Linked DNA regions of Homo sapiens: all the other regions are linked to region 1. Evidence: promoter capture Hi-C in 16 types of primary human blood cells and fetal thymus (Javierre and others, 2016). All regions are on one chromosome and are shown on one strand. Each heading gives the region's core, a stretch centred on a gene start or on the middle of the fragment in contact. The rest is flanking DNA. Distances are from core to core; before and after follow the strand shown. Region 1 holds the start of LEKR1 (leucine, glutamate and lysine rich 1). Region 2 overlaps LOC101928236 (a long non-coding RNA gene). Region 3 overlaps KCNAB1 (potassium voltage-gated channel subfamily A regulatory beta subunit 1). Region 4 overlaps LINC00880 (long intergenic non-protein coding RNA 880). Region 5 overlaps LINC00880 (long intergenic non-protein coding RNA 880).

What was found. Contacts are between HindIII fragments. The CHiCAGO score rates a contact against its expected background, and 5 or more counts as called.
Region 2: a contact is called between a fragment that was not itself captured here and the fragment with the promoter of LEKR1 in region 1, in 2 of 17 cell types (activated CD4 T cells and naive CD4 T cells). The highest score is 6.0, in activated CD4 T cells.
Region 3: a fragment that was not itself captured here is called in contact with the fragment with the promoter of LEKR1 in region 1 in 4 of 17 cell types (naive CD8 T cells, non-activated CD4 T cells, activated CD4 T cells and 1 more); the score reaches 6.9 in naive CD8 T cells.
Region 4: a contact is called between a fragment that was not itself captured here and the fragment with the promoter of LEKR1 in region 1, in 7 of 17 cell types (non-activated CD4 T cells, naive CD8 T cells, activated CD4 T cells and 4 more). The highest score is 9.5, in non-activated CD4 T cells.
Region 5: a contact is called between a fragment that was not itself captured here and the fragment with the promoter of LEKR1 in region 1, in 9 of 17 cell types (non-activated CD4 T cells, naive CD8 T cells, activated CD4 T cells and 6 more). The highest score is 12.8, in non-activated CD4 T cells.

Annotation. Positions count from the first base shown.
Region 1 is chr3:156,823,942-156,828,131 of GRCh38, forward strand. LEKR1 (leucine, glutamate and lysine rich 1) reads left to right here and starts at 2,412. Exons shown (of 13, transcript NM_001004316.3): 1 at 2,412-2,435. RefSeq lists an enhancer at 2,885-2,944 and a silencer at 3,259-3,553. The HindIII fragment of the contact is 11,302 bases long and covers 1-4,190 here.
Region 2 is chr3:157,199,079-157,203,268 of GRCh38, forward strand. The region is part of intron 2 of LOC101928236 (a long non-coding RNA gene); the gene reads left to right. Among named protein-coding and RNA genes, the nearest start is that of CCNL1, 41 kb to the left of the region's middle. RefSeq lists a silencer at 2,824-2,873. The HindIII fragment of the contact is 1,791 bases long and covers 931-2,721 here.
Region 3 is chr3:156,511,567-156,515,756 of GRCh38, forward strand. It overlaps KCNAB1 (potassium voltage-gated channel subfamily A regulatory beta subunit 1), which reads left to right. Exons shown (of 14, transcript NM_172160.3): 9 at 2,798-2,883; 10 at 3,534-3,654. Among named protein-coding and RNA genes, the nearest start is that of SSR3, 41 kb to the right of the region's middle. The HindIII fragment of the contact is 2,017 bases long and covers 691-2,707 here.
Region 4 is chr3:157,118,083-157,122,272 of GRCh38, forward strand. The region is part of intron 1 of LINC00880 (long intergenic non-protein coding RNA 880); the gene reads right to left. Among named protein-coding and RNA genes, the nearest start is that of LINC00880, 2.8 kb to the right of the region's middle. The HindIII fragment of the contact is 2,004 bases long and covers 826-2,829 here.
Region 5 is chr3:157,094,698-157,098,887 of GRCh38, forward strand. The region is part of intron 3 of LINC00880 (long intergenic non-protein coding RNA 880); the gene reads right to left. All of the region lies in intron 1 of LINC00881 (long intergenic non-protein coding RNA 881), which reads left to right. Among named protein-coding and RNA genes, the nearest start is that of LINC00881, 6.9 kb to the left of the region's middle. The HindIII fragment of the contact is 6,225 bases long and covers 1-4,190 here.

The DNA.
Region 1 (4,190 bases), core at 1,162-3,661:
AAATGTCATTCATCACAACTTAACTCTTATCCTTTGAAATTCTTACTGGGGTCTACTGCTTTCCAACTTTCTTTTTCTTTGTTTTCTTTTTTTAAGAGACAGGGTCGGGCTCTGTCACCTAGACTGGAGTGCAGTGGCCAGATCATAGACTGCAGCCTCAAATTCCTGGGCTCAAGTGATCCTCTCACCTAGGCCTTTCTGAGTAAAGACTACAGGTGTGTGTCACCACACCATGCTAATTTTTTTTTTTTTTATAGTGACAGAGTCTCACTATATTGCCCAGGCCAGTCTCAAACTCCTGGCTTCAAGAGATCCTCCTGCCTCAGCCTGCCAAAGCTCTGGGATTATAGGCATGAACCACCACGCCCAGCCCAACTTTCTATGATAATGAAAATGTTCAGTATCTATGGTGTATCATACATTACCTACATGACTACTGAGTACTTAAAATATGGCTAATGCAATATAGCAATGGAATTTTTAAACATACTTCATTTTAGTGAAATTAGTTACATGAGGCCACCTTACTGGACAGTGCAGGTCTAAGGGAAATTTACAGTGGAAAGGAAATTGGTCTCAAAGGCAATATGCAGACAAATAAACACAGATGAAATTAAACCAAGGAGTGAACTGCAGCCTTTGAGCTGGATTTTCTCCCATCCTTAAAGTGTTGCCTTTCCTTATCCTATAAACAAAGTACTCAATAAAGAAAACTAGCCTCAGAACAGAGTGATCTTGCATTAGGTGTGCAAATTCCTGTCCCAGATAGGTACCAGTTTTGGTGCCCTGTATCTAAACTTCCATTATCACAAAATGAGAGCAGTCCTACCCTCACTATCTCTCAGATAAATATGACGAGGATGAATAGCTCTGAAAGTTATTTGGGCTTCTCATAAGCATGTTATAGTTGACCACTTGGTTGACTGTCCTCTAGGCCTCTTAATCCTTTCTTCTTTGAGGGAGTGGAAACAGAAAATCAAGGGTAGGCATTGGGGCAAAAATATCAGTCAGGTTAAATGTACAAGATACATCTACTAGACTTTTTTTTTTTTTTTTTTTTTTGAGACTGAGTCTTGGTCTGTCGCCCAGGCTGGAGTGCAGTGGCATTATCTCGGCTCAGGGTAAGCTCTGCCTCCCAGGTTCACGCCATTCTCCTGCCTCAGCCTCCCGAGTAGCCCAAGTAGCTGGGACTACAGGCGCCCGCCACCACGCCCGGCTACTTTTTTGTATTTTTAGTAGAGACGGGGTTTCACCGTGTTAGCCAGGATGATCTCGATCTCCTGACCTTGTGATCTGCCCGCCTTGGCCTCCCAAAGTGCTGGAATTACAGGCCCGAGCCACCGCGCCCAGCCACATCTACTAGACTTTTTAGTGCCAAGGAACAAGGCACTAGTGTTCAGTACTTCCTGGTGTCATTAATTAGTAGTTATCAATAAGCAGTTTGGTGTACCGATACTGCTCTGCGTCATTTAATCACTTCTCTAAATCTATAGGTTCAATTAATTTTCTTTGTATTTACTTAATCTTATTTTATTCAATAGCAAACCAGTCTCTTTGCCTGCTACAGAGCCATCGATGTTTTCTTTGGTTCTTGGAAGAACTGTACTTCGACCTTATATAATCCTCAGAAAGGCAAGATCTGGACTACGAATGAGTCACCTGCTAATTACACCAATGGCTGCTCCTGCCTTGACCAGTCACAGAGTATCACCCTATCTCGGTATGCTGCTCTGCTTGTCGCGTAGTAGGTCTATAAATACTTGTTTTATGAATGAATGTATGAACAAAGGGAAGTTAGTCACGTGTAAGGGTGGGTAGCCTGCGATAAATAAAGTGTAGACTAGGAGGTCTCAAAATACTTTTTGAACTAAGCCCTTAATCTTCACTACTTTGGACTAGAATGGAAATGTCACCAACGCCTTCCCAATTAATTTGTCCTGGCTGTAATGACTGAAACCAGAACTTCCCTTTACACCCATGACCTCTACAGGCATCTCTTTTTCCTCTGCTCAAGAACAGTAACTGCTCACTGCTGTGTCTACCACATAGGCCCCAGAGCAAGGGGTGATAGGTAGGGCTATAGGCTCCCGACTCCCGACTCCCGGCAGTGCCTCTCTCCAACCCCCCACGAGGCTGGGACAGCTCCCTCCATCTCAGCAGTCGCTACCAAGCACCCGACCCACTCTCGCCCACCTCATCCCTCGATCCCCTTCCCTCCCTCTCACAGCATTCCGCGTAAGACTAGCCCAGCCTTCCGAGCCCCACCACCAGTTTTCCCACTTCCGCCCGGCGCGTGAGACCCTGGGCGGTGCAGGGGAGCGTTGACGACAGACGTGGGCCGTGACGTCGCCGCGCCCTGACGTCCAGCCGACTGGCGGCGCGGTCGCCCGGGAGACCGGGAAAGCCGTTTCACACCCGTCCTAGTCGAAGTCGAGGTGAGGGACGATGGCTTTCCTCAGCCTGGGATGACCCGGTCCTCCAAATGCAGTTCCGGAGTGGAGGCGTGCTCGCACCCGGGGAGAGAGCCAGAAAGCTGAGCCGCGGCGCCCCAGCGAGAGCACGAGGCCCCGGGTCTGGACTCCGCCACCACGCTCCTCTGCGGCCCCTTCCTGGTGTCTGCCAGCCCGCGGGGCCCAGGCGCGGTCCGCCTTCCTCCCAGCCCCGGGGAACGCGCGGCTCTGCTTCCTCACCCCCGCACCCTCCTCCTCCTCCTCTTCCGGCCACTGCAGGTCCAGGGGGAACGGGGTTAGAAAGGGACAGATTTGAAAGCCATTCCAGCAGTTTTGTCTGGCCTTGCGGTTGGTTTCTGTGTGGAAGAGCCTGCCGCTTCAGGAAAGTCTTAGGATGTGAACTCCCGCCTTCACCTGCCCCTGACCTGCTCGTTGTGGGTGATTCACGCCATGGGAATGGTTCTTTACGTAAGGGCTTGAAAGCTGAACGTGAGTTAATGGCCTGACGTGACACTAGTGTGAGAAACGGAATTGGAAACGAACAAGGACGTGTCTGCATTTTAAAAAATGTCTTTTCGGTGATCTTGTTAGAGAGGAGGTTCACAAACACCCACGTAGCTGCAGCCACTTATCACTGCACCTCTTGCCAAAGTGCGGTCCACATACGTGCAATGAGAAAGGATTAAAGGGACTTGTTTGATAACACACGCAAAACTATGTAAGACTAAATTTAAAAAATTACAGATTTTCCCTGTTGCCAAAAGGGAAAGACCCTTCTTTTTTCTTGAGAAACTTAGTATTTGTGAATGCTTCCTCTATTTAATATGTATGCAAATGTTTTTAAAGACCTAGGAATGCTTTTCTTGAGGACCTGGAAGCCATTTCTTTAAAATGTAAACATCAAGGAAGATAGGGCCCCAGTCTCCTTGTCACTTTGGGAGTTTAACCTAGGTGCGTTATTCCTAATTGTAAACACCTGTTTCGTTATGGAGCTGTGCATTACTTAGGAGGAAAGCCGTTAGCTAACACAGGTGGTTACCCCAATTACCAGATGAATTAAAGAGGAAATATAAAAGAATGTATAGAACACTATGTTAAGCCCTCTTACATGAGGACACGTTACCAGTTTCCTTGAGAATGTGTAATGGATTGTGTCTCCTTGGCTGTATAAAAGAGGGATTTCCTTCTCTCTTTGTAACCTCATTAGCAGATTAGCCGTGATGTGCATCAAAGTCTAGTTGAATGCCTAATAAAATTGTTGTCTTTCTGCATTGTGGAGCATTTTCTGGGTTGGCAGGACTTTTAATTTTTAGTTTCCCCCCGATAATCAGAACCTGCCAATTCCTCCCCTTCTTATGCTAAGGCCATAAAGTTGGAATAGATTCACAGACAATGAAGGCACTACACAAAAACTGTTCTACTGGTGCTTTGTTTATACTGTCATTTAGATCCGTGCTCTCAGATAACTTTATGGGTGAAATTTTAAAAGGATGTTTAGATGGTAATTTTTTGGAAAATTCTCCCAATAGAGTTGAAGTTACTATTTCATTTTACTGATGGCAAATCCACCATTAAATGACAGAAATGAGAATAATGAGCCTTCTGGGCTCTTGCCACATGATTATGACAATCTGCCAAACATCAGATTATGTTTGGGCTTATGTTGACATGGTTAATGGTACCTCCATTGCAGACCTCAGTTAACTTTACCACACATGTCATATTATGTTTTATGTGGGA
Region 2 (4,190 bases), core at 576-3,075, 370 kb after region 1:
TCTCATTCTCTGTTTCTTTTGTTTTTTTTTTTTTTTTTTTTTTTAAAAAAAGCCTGGGCGTGGTGGCTCACACCTGTAATCCCAGCACTTTGGGAGGCCAAGGCGGGTGGATCATAAGGTCAGGAGTTCCAGACTAGCCTGGCCAATATGGTGAAACCCCATCTCTACTAAAAATACAAAAATTAGCCAGGCGTGGTGGTGCGTGCCTGTAGTCCCAGCTACTTGGAAGGCTGAGCCAGAAGAATCACTTGAACCCGTGAGGCGGAGGTTGTAGTGAGCCGAGATTGCACCACTGAACTCCAGCCTGGGCGACAGAGTGAGACTCCGTCTCAAAAAAGCAAAACAAAATGAAACAAAACAAAATGAAACAAAACAAAACAAAACAAACAAACAACAACAAAAACCTGGGCACAGTGGCACATGCCTGTAGTCCAAGCTACTCAGGAGGCTCAGAAGATCTCTTGAGCCTAGGAATTCAAGGCCAGGCTGGGAAACATAGCAAGACCTTGTCTCTAAAACAACAAAAACAACAACAAACCCTTCCTGATAGCACCTTTTTAATGTTTCATGGGTCCAACAGCTTTTCTTCTTTTTCAGAGGATACTAATTGCAGTTTCTTTGAAATTTTCTTCTTTTGTCTCTGGTTCCTCTAAGTTCCCCCATCCACATTTTTTTGCCTTGGTATATGCCTCTTATACCAAGAGGCTTTCCTATATAGGAAAGTTGGAGGCTTTCCTATATAGGAAAGTTGGAGGCTTTCCTATATAGGAAAGTTGGAGGCTTTCCTATATAGGAAAGTTGGAGGCTTTCCTATATAGGAAAGTTGGAGGCTTTCCTATAATGTCGTTGATCTTTGGTTGTCTGTTTATATTTAAGACTGAGGATGGAAAGCTGATTGTGGTGGGAAGTGGGAAAGCCTGGTGAATAGTAAGCTTCCCTGGAGGATTAGCAAGCAAGGAGCGAGCCAATTTCTGGCAGCCTTGCCAAATGTTAGTGTCATAGTAGGATCTTTTCATCGCCAGTTTTGTAGGGAGCAGATTTCTGGGAAATGAAGGGGAAAAAGGCTGGGAGGTCTTGCAGGCCAGTATGCAGATTACCCCAATTTTTATTCTCTTTTCAGTTCACCCTGGCTCCTACTTTTCCAGGCACCTGGAAGAACTTTTGATGTCTGACTCCCAGGGTTCTGAGGTGAGGTAGGCTGGCTTCTTGCTGGTCTCCCCTCTGTTGTTGTGTGGGTTTCAGTGTTTTCCTAGTCAGTCCCACTCAGCCAGTGGCTGCCAACCTCCTGAAACTGTGATCTGGTCTGCTGTTGTTTTCTTCTTCCACTCTTTTTTTTTTTTTTTGAGACAGAGTCTTGCTCTGTTGCCAGGCTGGAGTGCAGTGGCATGATCTCGGCTCATTGCAACCTCCACCTCCCGGGTTCAAGTGATTCTCCTGCCTCAGTCTCCCAAGTAGCTGGGAGTACAGGCGTGTGCCACCACGCCCAGCTAATTTTTTGCATTTTTAGTAGAGGCAGGGTTTCACTGTGTTAGCCAGGATGGTCTCGATCTCCTGACCTCGTGATCCACCCGCCTCGGCCTCCAAAGTGCTGGGATTACAGGCATGAGCCACCGCGCCCGGCTCTTCTTCCACTCTTTATTTCTGTGTGGATTTATAACTTTTACTTTCCTCTTCTATCTTTTGAGAGAGCGTTGGAATGGAGTGGAGACAAAAGCTCATGTTCAGTTTTCCATCTTATTAGGTAATCAATTTGTTATTATGCTTTTCAGGTAATCACTTCATGGTTTTTCTTTAAAAGAGGACTTCTTCAATGACATGTATAATTAAATACATCATAGTTTATTTTATCATGGGAATAAATGCTTGACTAGTTAAAGGATACTTAGCATATATTAGGGTTGCCTAGTGGACAAGCTGAATTCAGCACCATAGGCTTTGACCAAAAGAAAGCCCCCTGAAACCTACAAAAAGAGTTAGAAAGCATCACTTACTATATTCTTGGTGTCTCTGCAAAATCTCGCCAAATAGAAGAGTATCTCTTCTACTATATGGAAAGAACACACATGCACATTTATTTTGTGGTTTACTTTAGTATCTATTTCATTTCATCTTCATGGCTACCTTAAAATCTTACAGTTGAAATTTAACATGTTTTACCGTTAATTTCCTTGTGGGAAATGAAAAACAATAACTGACTGGACTGTTCTCCCTTCTTTATAGCAGTTTTTTAACAAATTATTATTCAGTGGGGATTAGATTTGATTCTGTTCGCCTCTGGGATGTTGTACTAGTCCACGGCTGGTCTTTCCTAGGAATTAATTGAAAAGGAAATGGTAGATATGATTAGATTGCTGGACCCAGTAAAAAGGTAGACGCTGAGAGGTACCCGTGGCCAACTGAGACAAGCTGCCCATGAATTATGCTGCTCTGTGCTTATTAAGACTTCATGTTGCACAGAAATGGATTGAAAAGATGTAAGTTATCCAGTCTCTCAATATTACCCTCAATAATTTACTTCCAAAAAGAAAAAAACTGATCTGAAGATTTCAGGCAAGAATTTAAAATTGCTAATCTCATTTCATAACTCCAAAAGGATTTTATGTCTGTCACTGTAAAACCTGCTGTGGATATTCCTAAGTCTCAATTCAGCCAACTTCCGAGAATTCCCACAGCATGAAAATACATGAATCGCCAGTGCTTGGGCTAAATGCAAACCAATTAAGCTTTTAAATAGCTGAAGTGTGAGCTAAAGCCTGCTACATAATTTAAATGCCATCTAGTGGCCAAATGTCATCTTTAGTCCTCATTCAAAACAGTTTTGGTGCCTTCTGGTATTTATCTTAGGGTGATATACCAAATAGTTTTGAGTCAATCATATGATAGCCACTTCTGCTTTCAGAGTGAAACGAAATTGGAATATGATAAAAAATGTTTAACAGCTTGAAATGTGCGTAAGTCCCAGCTTTTATTCCAGGGTCATCTGCTTATATGGCTATAAAACAGAGTTGTTGCTTGGTTTGACTAGTATGCCATCAAATAGTACCCGTAAGCTGGGCACAGTGGCTCACACCTGTAATCCCAGTACTTTGGGAGGCCGAGGCAGGTGGATCACTTGAAGCCAGGAGCTCAAGACCATCCTAACCAACATGGTGAAATCCCATATCTACTAAAAATACAAAAAATTACCAGGCATGGTGGTGCATGCCTGTAGTCCCAGCTCCTCGGGGAGGTTGAGGTGGGAGAATCACTTAAAGCCAGGAGGCAGAGTTTGCAGTGAGCCGACATTGCACCACGGCACTCCAACCTGGGTGACAGAGCGAGACCTTGTCTCAAAACCAACCAACCAACCAACCAAACAAAAAACCCAAATAGCACCCATAGTTATAATTTACTATTTTGCCATTGAAAAATTAAAGCATATATGTAATGTTAGGAAGCTAATATAGGACCGTATTTTAATCATTGATAGACAGAGGATTTAAAGGATCAGGCTTCAGTCTTAGCAAATGAAGTAGCTGTGAGAGAGACATATCATTTGTCCATAAGTAAGTGCCATGCACAAGCACATTAGTATGATTATAATAATAGTGGCCTTGAGAGCAGCAGCCAACATAGATTAAATGCTTATATGCCAGGTACTGTTCTGCATGCTCTGCTTGTATTAATTCATTTGATCTTCACAATAACCTAATGAGGTAGGTATTGTGGTTGCACCCATTTTATAGGCAAATTGGGGCACAGAGTGGTTAAATTTCATGCCCACTAGAGAGAGGCCGAATAGGAATTGGAGCATTTGGAGTATCCTTTGGTCTTTTAGCTGGTTTGGATTTTGGGTAGTGCTTTGGTGGAAGGATCCTCAGAGAATCATGAAAGACCCTTTAATATAACAAGGACACAGTCAGCACTTGATCATCCTATGATCTAGGCAGAGTCTAGATCTAGGCAATGCTCTAGGAAGAGTCTGGGAATGTTGGCTCAAGGATGAGGCTGTGCAAACAAGGCTCTCTCTGGGTCCCTGGCAAGAACAGCTTTGGTTAGACCTACCTGCTCTTTTGGCTCTGTGGGGGTAAATCATCTCTGGAGAATTGAGAGTGGATTTTGCTTTTGTATAATTGTGGTCTGGGGTTATTTGTAACGTCTTTCTCTCTCTGTTTAGATCATAGAGTTGATTGATTTGAGTGCAACCAAAC
Region 3 (4,190 bases), core at 449-2,948, 310 kb before region 1:
CTCAGTCCATCTGTAAGTATTGTGGATTCTGCCTTCAACATCTATTTTGAATCCATCCACCACTCTCTCTGTTTGCCATCATCACCCTATTACAAATCACCCTCATCTCCTGCCTAGAATACAACAATACCTTCCTCAAGCTCTTTCTACTTCCTCCAGTCCTCCCTGTTACTAATGATTCTCCACAGCACAGAGACTGTTCTGAAATGCAAACTATATTCTACCATCCCCTTACCTGATAAAATGTTAATGCCTTGATTAAACCTTGAATAACATACAAATGACATGGTTTGCCCTCTGCCAACTTCATCTCATACCCCTGTCCTCCTTCCCTCCCATTGCTGGGACTCACTAAGCTCTGTCCTTCCTCAGGGCCTAGGCGCATACTACATCATCTGCCTCGAATGCTCTTCCACTGTTCTTCACAAGGATGGTTCCTTTTTTCTTTTTTATGCCTAAACATGATTGCTCTTCAGTGAGACCTTCCTTACTGCACTAAATATGTCTTCTCTTTCATTTCCTGTCCCAGTCCCCTGTGTTATTTTCTTTATAACACTTTACATTTTATAATGACTTACTTGTTTACCCCTCCATCTCTCACTCAACTTGAAACTCCCTGAGTCCAGGAAATTTGTGTCTGTTTTACTCACAGAAGAATCCAGCAACCAGCACAGTGACTGGCAAACATTAAGCTTTTAATACTTGTGTGTTGTATAATTAAATGCATGTGCAGGAAGAGTCACAACTTCCACTCCATCTTCACTGCTTTTGTCAAGGACTCCCACGTGCCCAAGCCACCTGTCAGCATTCTGTGCCTGTCTTACTTGATGGCAGAGACAGAGTTAAGGGAGAGGCCAGGTCCAGTTTATTCTCTGTTAACCTCTTCTGTGTTTATCAGCATGTTTGATTCACCACAGTATCTCCAGCACCCAGAACAGCAGACACCTAGTAGATACTGTTGATTGGCTGAACTCCCAGCTCTGAATGACACAGGATGTGAAGGGAAAGGGAGCTGGTGCAGTGATGGAGACATCTAAAGACAGAATCTATCTGGGGCAGAGATTCATATCATTGTTTTCAACTTCTGGAACTGTTTATCATAGGCACGCATCTCCATTTGTATAATGAAAGAGAAGAAAAGCGGTTCCTTACACTTTTTTAATCATATGTTTTATAAATGGAGAATGAACTTCATAGTTTTAGTTGCTAGGCAATAATTTGATATTCTAGAGTCTTTCTCCAAGAAAAAGAAAACTATTTTGCTTATAAGCCAGCTTTTACCTCTGTTGGACACACAATGGTGAATGAAAGCATTTCCATCTTCCAAAAAAGAAATCAAGGGCAATTAAAAATAGTTTACAGAAGGACGGGAGCAGTGGCTCACGCCTGTAATCCCAGTACTTTGGGAGGCCGAGGTGGGAGGATCACGAGGTCAGGAGATCGAGACCATCCTGGCTAACACGGTGAAACCCTGTCTCTACCAAAAATACAAAAAGTTAGCCGGGTGTGGTGGCGGGCACCTGTAGTCCCAGCTACTCGGGAGGCTGAGGCAGGAGAATGGCATGAACCCGGGAGGCGGAGCCTGCAGGGAGCCGAGATCTTGCCACTGCACTCCAGCCTGGGCCAAAGGGCAAGACTCCATCTCAAAAAAAAAACAACAACAACAAAAAAGTTTACACCAGCCAAACAAGCAAAGAAGCTAAGACCCTGACTCTGGCCATTTCATTCCAAATCCTGTTCCGTATCAATCTAGACAGTGCCTGCTCATGAGAAATAATAATAATAATAAAAAAATACATCTACTGCAACTCTACTTTGAGACAAGGATTTGGTTCTTCTGAAGGGCATTTAACTGACTGGTATTACTGAGAAATAAAAAATCCCAAGGCCTGTGACCCTTTGAAACTGTCGAGTGACCTGGCATCCTGTTAAACACTGACCTGCTTTGTAGAAGAAATCCAACCCTGTCTGTGAATTTTAACTAAGTTAAACTTGAGGGTCTCCATGCTCTCTTGTTCTGCAGCACATCTGGCTGGTGCCAAGAGGATTTGCTCAGCTCCATCCTCTGGGGAAGGGATTCATTTTCCTGTTTAGGAAATGTGATGTCGAGCTCCATGAGGCTGATGAGCACGCTGGGTGGGACCACAAACAGGCCCCAGTGAAATCAATTATGTGGGTGTCTTAGGACAAAATTTGGTTCAAAGTGATCAAGGACAGGGTGTGTCATTGCAAGCTGTGAGCCACGGTGACTTCGGCTGTTTGTTCAGCATTTAATATGTTTATCTTTCTGCTAAACACATTGTTGTTGAGTCACCTCTCTTAGAGACCCATTCTGTGTGAGGTCCAGCTCTGCAAGTCCAATATACAAAGACAAGCCTTTCACCTTCAATGACCTTACATTCTACAAAGTTGAAACAAATGCCTTCTCTTACTTCTCACTTTAGTCGGGAAGGTACTCAGGCTCTTAAAAAGGTAAATCATGTATTCTTTATTAGGCCAGGAATCATCAAGCAATAAAAGTAAAGGAAGAACTTAAAATGGTCATTATATTTTCAATATCATTTAGTGTTGTTGCTGCAAATGGAAAATGGAATGTCAGTTTGCCCAAAGGTACCATCAGCCTTCAAACCATCAATATTTCCTGTCAGACTATAATGTTGTCACCAATATTAGGCTAATTTTATTAATCAAACAAACAATTGCATTAAGCTTCTAAGCTTTGGCTAGAGGAGTAAAAATCGCATAACTTTGAAAAGTAGACAAATTCATGAAATGCTGTCTGTTTGACCTTCCACAGAAATTGTCCGAGCCATGACACATGTGATAAACCAAGGCATGGCGATGTACTGGGGCACCTCGAGATGGAGTGCTATGGAGATCATGGTAATTTAACTTCTATTTTTAAATGGCTATTGAGTACCTTATTATTGCTTTTCAGATGCCATGCATAAATTGCAAGATCTTTTGCAAACTTTTCTCACAATCACTATGGCACTGGAATTCTAGAATCAATTCCATCATTACAGAGATGGATATTGGAGCCGGAGCTCATCCGTTCAGAATACAACAGAGAATACAGTGTTCTTTGGTGGCAAGAGGGTAAAGTGAATTTCACAGCTAATGAGATATATTAACAGAGTATTCTAGTTTTCTTATAAAAAACTGTATTAACTATACTGTTTATACCAAGCTAATTACAGATACTTTTATATGTTAGTCTAAGTCTTATTTCTTTAGGAACTTAAAAATAGTTAAACTACATTTTCTTTATCGTAGTGTACAATTCACACCTTGACTAATTTGCTCTGGACTTAACTCAATCCAAACCCTCCCAAAGAATTAATAAGGGTTTCCTACCTTTCATATTGCTCTTAGTGAAATCGGTGGTGACAAATTTGCTTATTATTTGGCATCCTACATGTTTCTTGGTTTGTACTGATTTCACCAAAGTAAACATTTCTCATGCATACAAATTACAGCGAAGCCTTATTTCTCATCAGTATAAATTTGGTTGTAATCTCATTCCTCCCTAGGAAGCCTATTCTGTAGCAAGACAGTTCAATATGATCCCACCGGTCTGTGAACAAGCTGAGTACCATCTTTTCCAGAGAGAGAAAGTGGAGGTCCAGCTGCCAGAGCTCTACCACAAAATAGGTAATCTTCAAAATAAAAGCTACTGAGTATTTTTAACAAGAGAAAGATCACTGATTCGGGGAAAAAATAAAAACAGTGTTATTGAAATGCTTTCCTAAATGTCCCTAATTAACATAGACATTGTAAGAACCATGCATTCCAGAGATTGTAGCAGAATCAAAATGTAGCAGAATCTGCATTTAGTCTACAGGGTATCACTGATGAAAGCCAAGCAGAGTTGTAAATTGTGACTGGTATTTCAGCTGTACTCAGCAGGTGTTCAAAAAAAAAATGCATACTGAATAAAAGGAACAACCAATGAATAAGTTCATTTTTCATTGGTGCTTGCTCGAGTAAACAATGACTACCTTTCAAAAAAAATCATGGATATATACATCTGTATCCACTACCCTGGCCCTGGCACTGAGTTAGAAATGGGAAATTCAACAACTATTAAGTCGGGTACTATACATTTGTGCAGATAGAACTAATGCCTTCAGAGACAGGGGAAATATATCTATATATAATATACCCAAGAAATTTAGACATTAGGAAAA
Region 4 (4,190 bases), core at 578-3,077, 290 kb after region 1:
CAGATATTCTCCCAACTTTCTACTTAAGTGTGGGCTATGAGTACAGCTGTTTAAACTTCCAGGAATGGGACTCTAAGATATACAATTATTTCATATATTCATATATATGTGAACCCCAAATATCTGAGACAGATCTCAGTTAATTTAGAAAGTTTATTTTGCCAAGGTTGAGGATGCATGCCCATGACACAGCCTCAGGAGGTCCTGATGACATGTGTCCAAGTTGGTCAGAACACAGCTTGGTTTTATACATTTTAGGAAGACATGAGACGTCAATCAATATATATAAGCTGTACATTGGTTCTGTCTGGAAAGGCGGCACAACTTGAAGCTGGGAGGGAGCTTCCAGGTCACAGATACTTGAGAGACAAACGGTTCATTCTTGTGAGTTTCTGATTAGCCTTTCCAAAGGAGGCAATCAGATATGCATTTATCTCAGTGAGCAGAGGGGTGACTTTGAATAGAATGGGAAGCAGGTTTGCCCTAAGCAGTTCCCAGCTTGATTATTCCCTTAGTGATTTGGGGGCCCGAAGATTTATTTTCCTTTCATATATATATATATATATATATATATATATTTTTTTTTTTTTAAATCAGAACAAGGCCCTAAAACTCTAGAAAGATTCCCATGCCATTATTTTCTCTGTCTTTCTTTCCAGATATCAATCATAGCTATTTTGGTGAAATCCCTATTGCTCCAAACTATTTTAGTGCTGCCTCTCTGCCATCATGACAACAAAGGTCTTTTGAAAAATGTTCATAACCTTTGACCCAGAATTCTTTTAAGGAGGTAAACCAAAAGCAAGGAAAAAAAAGAACAAAAAAAGCTTTGGGAAGAAAGATGTTCACTGCAGTATTATTTATTATAGTGGAAAACTGGAGAAAACTCTTATGTGTAACAGTAGAAAAACAATTTAATAAAATATGAGGTAGCTTACTAAATGGAAAAATGCTTATTGCAAATGGTTTTTACATAGAGAGTTAACATGGAAAAATATTAATATTAATTCATGTTAAAATGCTGAATGAATGCAGGTACAAAATTACATAGTGATCTATGAGTTACATTACATAGTGTCATATCAACTATGTACGTCTTTTTATACACAGAAAAAAGAAGAAAAAATTATATTATTCCAAGGTTAAAATACCTAAAATTTAGAATATTTAGAATTGGGTTAAAGTACCTGAAATTGTTTCCACTATCAACCCAATTCTATATGTTTGAAGAACAGCATGTGAAGGTGGTTATGGAGCAGGCCCTGTCCAGAGAAATTTTATATCCGGCCCTGGGACCTCTAGGCCTGTATACACAGATAGAGGACTTATAAACAGCAGAGTTGAAACATGAGTGAATCTGAAAGAGCCAGTCCCTCAAGATGAATCCTGAGTGGCTACATAAATTTAATATAGAGCCAAACGGCCATTTACTGACTAGAGATTACACACTACTCTGAGTTCCTGGAAAACCCACAGTCGGCTTAACACTGGGGCTTTGACAGCTGACTGTTACCGCTCATGTGGCCTGAAGCAACGGAATAGGCTGTGCTCCCCATCAACCAATCAGGACTCAGCTGCATTGATCAATCAGAACCAAGCCAGTTTGAATTGTTCATTTGCATAAATGGACCTGATTGGGAACCCAGGTAGGAATTTTCTCTGTAAACGCCAAACTGTCTCTTTGTTCTCTTCATTTTACACTTAGGGCTATGTTTCCTCGTCTGTAAACTGTTCATTGTAATAAAGTCTGTTTCCTCTAAATTCCTTTTCAGAGAACTTTTGTTCACACATAAAACCACAGGTCACGTGATTTTTTTGTTTGTTTTTGGAATGGTATGCACAGATAAATTTAAAATTACAGTCAAGGGAGGGGTAGCTAAGACAGCCCAGTGACGATGATCAATTCTACGTCAGGAAGAAATCAAGAAGAAAATGGGGTTCACAAATGAGTTAGTAACAACCGAGATTTCCACTTTGAAAGTATCTTCACACCGTTATTTCACGGGATCCTCAAAACCCCCTGAGGTGGTAGGAAGGTGATTGTTGGTGTCAGTCCCATTTTGCAGAAGAGAAAAATGAGTGTCAGGCAGAGTGGCTCGCTCGGTGCCCTGGCGGCGGCAGCGCGCCAAGGCCCAAGGCCCCTCTGGTCTCTGGGCTTAGACCTACGGCAGGAGGCGGGGGAAGCCTGCAGCGCAGCTCAGCAGCAGGTGGCAAGCCCTCTACCCGCTGGGAACGTTCAGGGTTATCAGCCCGTGGGAAGCAAGGTAGGACCCGCAGCTTGCAAGAATCTGCAAGGTGGGAACGGCGTTCGGGATGTGTTTGGCCCCCCAAGGCCAAGGCACGAAGGGGTCCCAGGCGGGTCGCCAGCGGCGCGGCTTACAATGGCCGGTTCGACCCAGAACGGTCGCCGCCGCAAGGCGGGTGAACTTTCCCGCCCTATGCGCCTGTTTCCGCGGGCCAGGCCGTCCGCCCGCGCCGCGTGGCCTGCCTAGCTGCACCTTAGCCCCCATGCGCCGGGTAGGCCCGGGCCCCGCCGCCGCGCTCTGAGCCCGCGTGGGTCTCACAACCATGGCCCTCTTATCTGCTCCTGTGCTTCGGTGTTTGGTTTTCCCTGTTTGACAGACTGAACCTTGTACTTTCGCAAATAACAAGTGTTTGCTCAGCAATCCAAGCAGCACCGGCAAGATTGCAGGTGCTGCGGCGGGCATGAGAGGTCATGCATTCGGGATGCCAGGAGGTCCTGGAGTCAGGAGCCCTGCAGCCCCTTCAGGGATGCCAGTGGCTTGGGCTGAACCCCAGACTCTGCCCTCGAACTTGAAGGGAACTTGAAGCTTCTTTAGGCCAAGTTTTATTGAAGGGTGTCCTGGGACACAATTCAGTGACTAGTAAATTTTGGCCATCGGAAAGCTCTCTTTACCCTAAAGAAAGACGAATACACTTAATGACAATTATGATAATAATAAATTTAGAAAGGCAATGGTAATTCTTTTTTTCCTAACTTGTCTCACTCTACTTCTTTTAAATTCAAAACAGGTCCCCTTTTTGCTGTTGTTAAAAAGGATTTTTTAACTTCTGAAATTAAAGCAGAGTATTTCACTTTTGTTAAAAAATAGAACTTAATCCACAGTTGAGATTTTTGTTTTTCTAGACTTGAAAATCTGCTTGTAATTTGCACAAATGCCTTTCACTTCAAAACCTTTTATCCAAATAGAAGCACAAAGTTGTACTTGCCTTTCCTTCCACAGAAGGCGTTTCCAGTATCTTGCATACACAACAACTTGCTCAGGTTAAACATAGTTTCATTAAAGAGCTATTAAATGGTGCTCTTAAAGTTTATCTTTGCATTTTAAAAGGGGTATAGATGTTGCCAAAACAGCAAGGATAGCATGTAGGGTACTTTGCAGTTCTCTAAACTTTTTCCTCCCTGGAGTCACTGAAGTCCCTTCCTGGCTTAAGTCACTTTGGTACTCAATACAGTGTTTGTTTACATCATTTAGCATTATGCCCCTTAGCTTTACCCAGTGTCATTTTAAGAAATGATCGGGTGAAAAACAGCTTTAAATTATCTGTAAAATTGCCATAGATATTCATTATGTTGCTTCACATAAAAAATTCCTTGCAACTAATTTCCACTTGGACTTTAGTACTAGAATGAAGTTTGCCTATGTTTTCTTTTTTCAGTTAATGAAAGCTGTGGAATGCATGGGACTATTCTTTTTGCCTAGGAATCTCAGAACTTAATTTTGAGGATCCTCCTTAGCCTACATTTTCTGACATAGTTCTTACCCTACATCTCCCTTTCCCCCAACCACCATCAGATATTTCTTTCTCTAAGTTATTCATCCCATCTTTGTTTTAAGGTACCTATATATTCTTTTATGATTCCCTTTAAAAAATCGCAGAAGTAGGAAGATATAAAAATTAGTTATTCTAGACTTCCTCAAAATGTTCTTTCAATCTGCTTTTAAATGGCATATACAATCATTCTCGGCTTTGGCATTTGGTTCAGGTGACACCTGCAAGTTACCTTACCAAAGGCCTACCCAGAATTGTGTACAATCCCAGCAAACAAGGCTCTGCCCCTCTCAAGAGTACTCTCAAACAGCAATGCATATCTCATCTAATGCATTACTATTTTGTGAGTCACTAACAAGCTTCAGTACTTTGTTTTATTAGTAACAACTGACTCA
Region 5 (4,190 bases), core at 912-3,411, 270 kb after region 1:
AGTTCGTTTTCCGGGGGTGATGGCTCAGAGACAAGCTGGGATACTAAGCTGCCTGAAGGGTTTGCATTTCCCATGGTGCCCAGTGCAGTGCCGAGAATGAACTTGTAGACCCTTTATTGCTGTGGCTAAGATGGAGGAGGTTTGGAAATCTTTGACAGCTGAGCCCTGTGACAGAAGAGAACAAGAATTCCTGGTCCTCCCAACACCTCGGTATGTGTACTCTGGTGCTGATGTTCAAGGTCGTGGTCATTCCAGTCATGCATTCAGCAGGCAGTCACTGAGCACCTACCAGACACTGCTCAAGCAAAGCAGACTAAAACCTCAAGGAGCTTACTCCTAAAGTAAGCTATACGTTTTGCTATATATTGTGTATCAAAATGCTGATTAATGCTATGGAGAGAAAGGAAACAGGAAATGGGAAAGCAGGGATTATAGGTTGAGGGTTATGTAACATGAAATGGGGTCTTTAAGAAGTCTGAACTGAAGACAGCTCCCTCAGTTACCTAAGCACCAACAACTGTGGCTGGTGACACATTAGGAGCCCTGCAAAGAAAGTGGCCAGCCACCTAATCCCAGAGTTTCCAGGAAGTGGCCAGTTGGAGCCAAGACAGGGTGGTGTGCATCCTCCTTCATACCCCAAGAGTTTTATTATGTGGTGAGTGGAGCTGGTACAGCCAGAGTCTGAAGCAGTCGAGAGGGCATGCCTGGGAAGGTAACAGTCCTTTGTTCTGGAAATGATGAGAAGGTTTGTTTAGATGTAGTCAGGTCCCCAGGCAATGTCTTCTGGGGAAGAAGAGCATCCAGCTCCCTAAAGGAAAGATTTGGCAAGGCCAAGAGAGAAGGTCAAGGCCCTGACCAAGAGAATCAGAATGGAGCATAGATGCCACATCGCTGGAATGGGCTAGGAGGAGTGAGCACATGGGGTACAGGCCCCATCTTTCATGGGCATCAGGCTACAGCTGGGAGGGGAGAAAAGAGAACTTAGGGTCATGTGTAGACCTTTAGGCTGGAACAGAGGGTTGGTATAGGATGACCAGGTTACAGGGGCTTTGGAATCAAGTCAAGGAATATGTGTTTTTCTCAGATCTACTAACACTGGCTCAGGTGTATCTTTGCAGTAGCCAGGACTTGCTTGTTCTGTCATCTGTGTAAGCACCACAGTTCTTTTCTTTTCCTTTTTCTTTGGAGGGGGGGTGGGTGGGATGGAGTCTCACTCTGTCACCCAGGCTGGAATGCAGTGGCATGATCTCCACTCACTGCAACTTCCAGCTCCCTGGTTCAAGCGATTCTTCTGGCTCAGCCTCCCGAGTAGTTGGGACTACAGGCGTGCGCCATCACACCTGGCTAATTTTTGTATTTTTAGTAAAGATGGGGTTTCACCATATTGGCCAGGCTAGTCTCGAACTCCTGACCTTGTGATCTGCCCTCCCTGGCCTCCCAAAGTTCTGGGATTATAGGTATGAGCCACCCGTGCCTGGCCCCACCACAGTTCTTTTAACCATAAGCCAAATAACAATGAAATAAACTGTCAGTTCCCTGGGAGGGCAGCTAGGAATGGGAAGGAAGGTGAAATGGCAAGGAATCCCCGTTTTTCGTGCCCAGAGTATAATTCTCAGTGGAAACCAAGCAGAAACAGACTTAAACAAACCCCTGGGGAGGAGAAAAGCATGTCTAGTAAAGAGTGACCAGCGCAGTTTGCCCTCCTGTATGAATACCAGGGTCACAACAACGTGTCATGTTGCCACTTTGATCACAGGATTTTGGTCAGAAAGAATGTGGGATTTGGACTTTGAGTTTGGCTCTTGACTGTCACCTGTTCAGTGTGTGACCTTGGGTAAGTTTCTTTACCCTCTGAGCCTTCGTTTCCTCATCTGTATAGTGGGAATGTGCAATCTGGAGTCTGTGCTAGGATTCCGTCACATCTAGTGGACTAGCAGGGAAACCCTACAGGGATCTGGGAAAACTCCCTTCTTGAGGAAATGCAGGGAGCTGCGCACAGTGGGCTCACCAAAAGGTGAAGCATCATACTGGAGAAAGGAGTAGTTTTGAGTACACTGTGGTAACAGGGGCGGAACCCCATCCTTCACCCTACCCCATATCAGACCCATGTCTCATTCCTGGGCAGAGTTGTCACTAAAAGCTAAAGGGACTATTTGTTAGTGCTTCATAAGACACTGGAGTACAGGGTCACTGAGATGAAACTCCTATAAATGAACATAAGAGAGAAAAAGGCAACTTTTCCACCTGACAATCCACAGAGCAACTTTACCAGAGTGAGATGGCAGAGCAGAGTAAGGGACAGTGCCTGGGCATTGATTTGCTGATGAGCACATGTAAGACCTCCTACCCCAGGAACTCCCCAAAAGTGCAGGGTAGAAGGTGCTTTGCAGGGAGCTAGGTTCAAAGTGAGAAATGGTGGTAACAAACTAACATTTAGATTATTAGTCTTGATGTGACTTTATTTGTGCATGCGTAGTGTATCACACAGGGTTCTCTAGAGAAACAGAACCAATAGGACATATACAGATATGTAGAAGGGGATCTATTACGGGAATTGGCTCATGCAATTGGCTCGAGAAATTCCATGTTATGCAGTCTGCAAGCTGGAGAACCAGGACAGGTGGGGGTATAATTCAGTCTGATACTGAAAGCCCCAGAACCAGGGGAGCCGATGCTGTAACTCCCAGTCAGAGGCCCAAGGTCTGAGAACGCAGGTGACAGCTTATGTAGAGAATGCAGCTTATGTAAGTCCCAGAGTTGGAAGGCCCAAGAACCTTGAATTCTGGTGTTGGAAGCGAAAGAAGATAACGTCCTGGCTCCAGAAGGGAGAGCAAATTCACCTTTCCTCCACATTTTTGTGGAGGCTGAGGGCCAGTTGGATGCTGCCCACCTGCATTGGTGGGGGTGATCTATACTTAGTCCACTGATTCAAATGCTAATGTCTTCCAGAAACACCCTCACAGACAACCCAGAAATATTGTTTTATCATCTATCTGGATGCCCCTTAACCCAGTGTGGTCGACACAAAATTAACCATCACACCTGGTGGGGGAAACTTGGCTAATACCTACCTCATGGGAATCAAACAGGATGTTCCCAAGCATGAGCCTGGACATGGCAAATACACAGTAAATGGCAAATTCCCTCACAAACCATCCAGGGAACCCACTGGAACCATTGCAGAATGCTCAGAACATCTCCTGGTGTGTTTGGGGATTGGACAACATTCTTGTAGCAAATATCTTTAATCAAAAAGTAACTTAACACATATCTTTGAGCATGTATATGTTCCAGTAAAGTATACATGCTAAGAGGGGTTTGAAATTATCTTTTCTTCTCAGCACTTTACAGTTTACAAAATACTTCAATGTGAATTTTAGTCACGTTAGCTCTTGCAACAACTTAATAATGTAGGATCCCCACATATAAATCAGAAGATTGCATTTCAAAGAGGTGAAGTGACTTGTCCTTAATAACCCAGCTAATAAGGGGTGCAGCTGGACTCAAACCTGGTCTCTTTCCATTAAAGTCTGGTAGAAAACTAAGACCAAAACAAATACAATAATGACAGAAAAAAAAAAAAACCACAGCAAATACGAAAACCTGTGGTTCTGACTCAAAGTGCTGGAGACAAAGACAAATGTCTGTGGCTGGACATCCAGAAGGAGTCAGCTGGGACCTGAGCCGATCTAACTAGAAAATGAAAGGGTGCTGCTGAGGACAGGGAGGCAGGGATGGAGGAGGCAGGTTTCCAGTGGGACCTCACCTGGCACCCCTTGAGCTGGCACCCACCTTTTCACATTTCACAGAGCATTTCTACTGACCTTTCCAAAGGGCACTGCACCTCACTGCTCCCAAATCTCTGAAAGTCAAAACGGAGGCTTTGCTCCTGCATCACTGTCTGGACCATACAAATCACCTCTTGTGACTTTGGCAACTGCTGGTCTCAGGGTTTGTATCCTAGTCATTTCTACTTCTTGGAGAATCATTTATGACATTCTAAAAGTATAGAAAACCATCTACTGAAATGTGTCAACATTAAAACATTAGTTAGCTAGAAATGATGCTCATTTAAGTTACAGAAAAAAACAACAGACAGGAAAAGACATGAGCATTTATGGGCCAGCCTCTGTACTAGCATCTCTCACACTCATGATCTCTTGTTATATTCACTGCAATACAATTTGGGA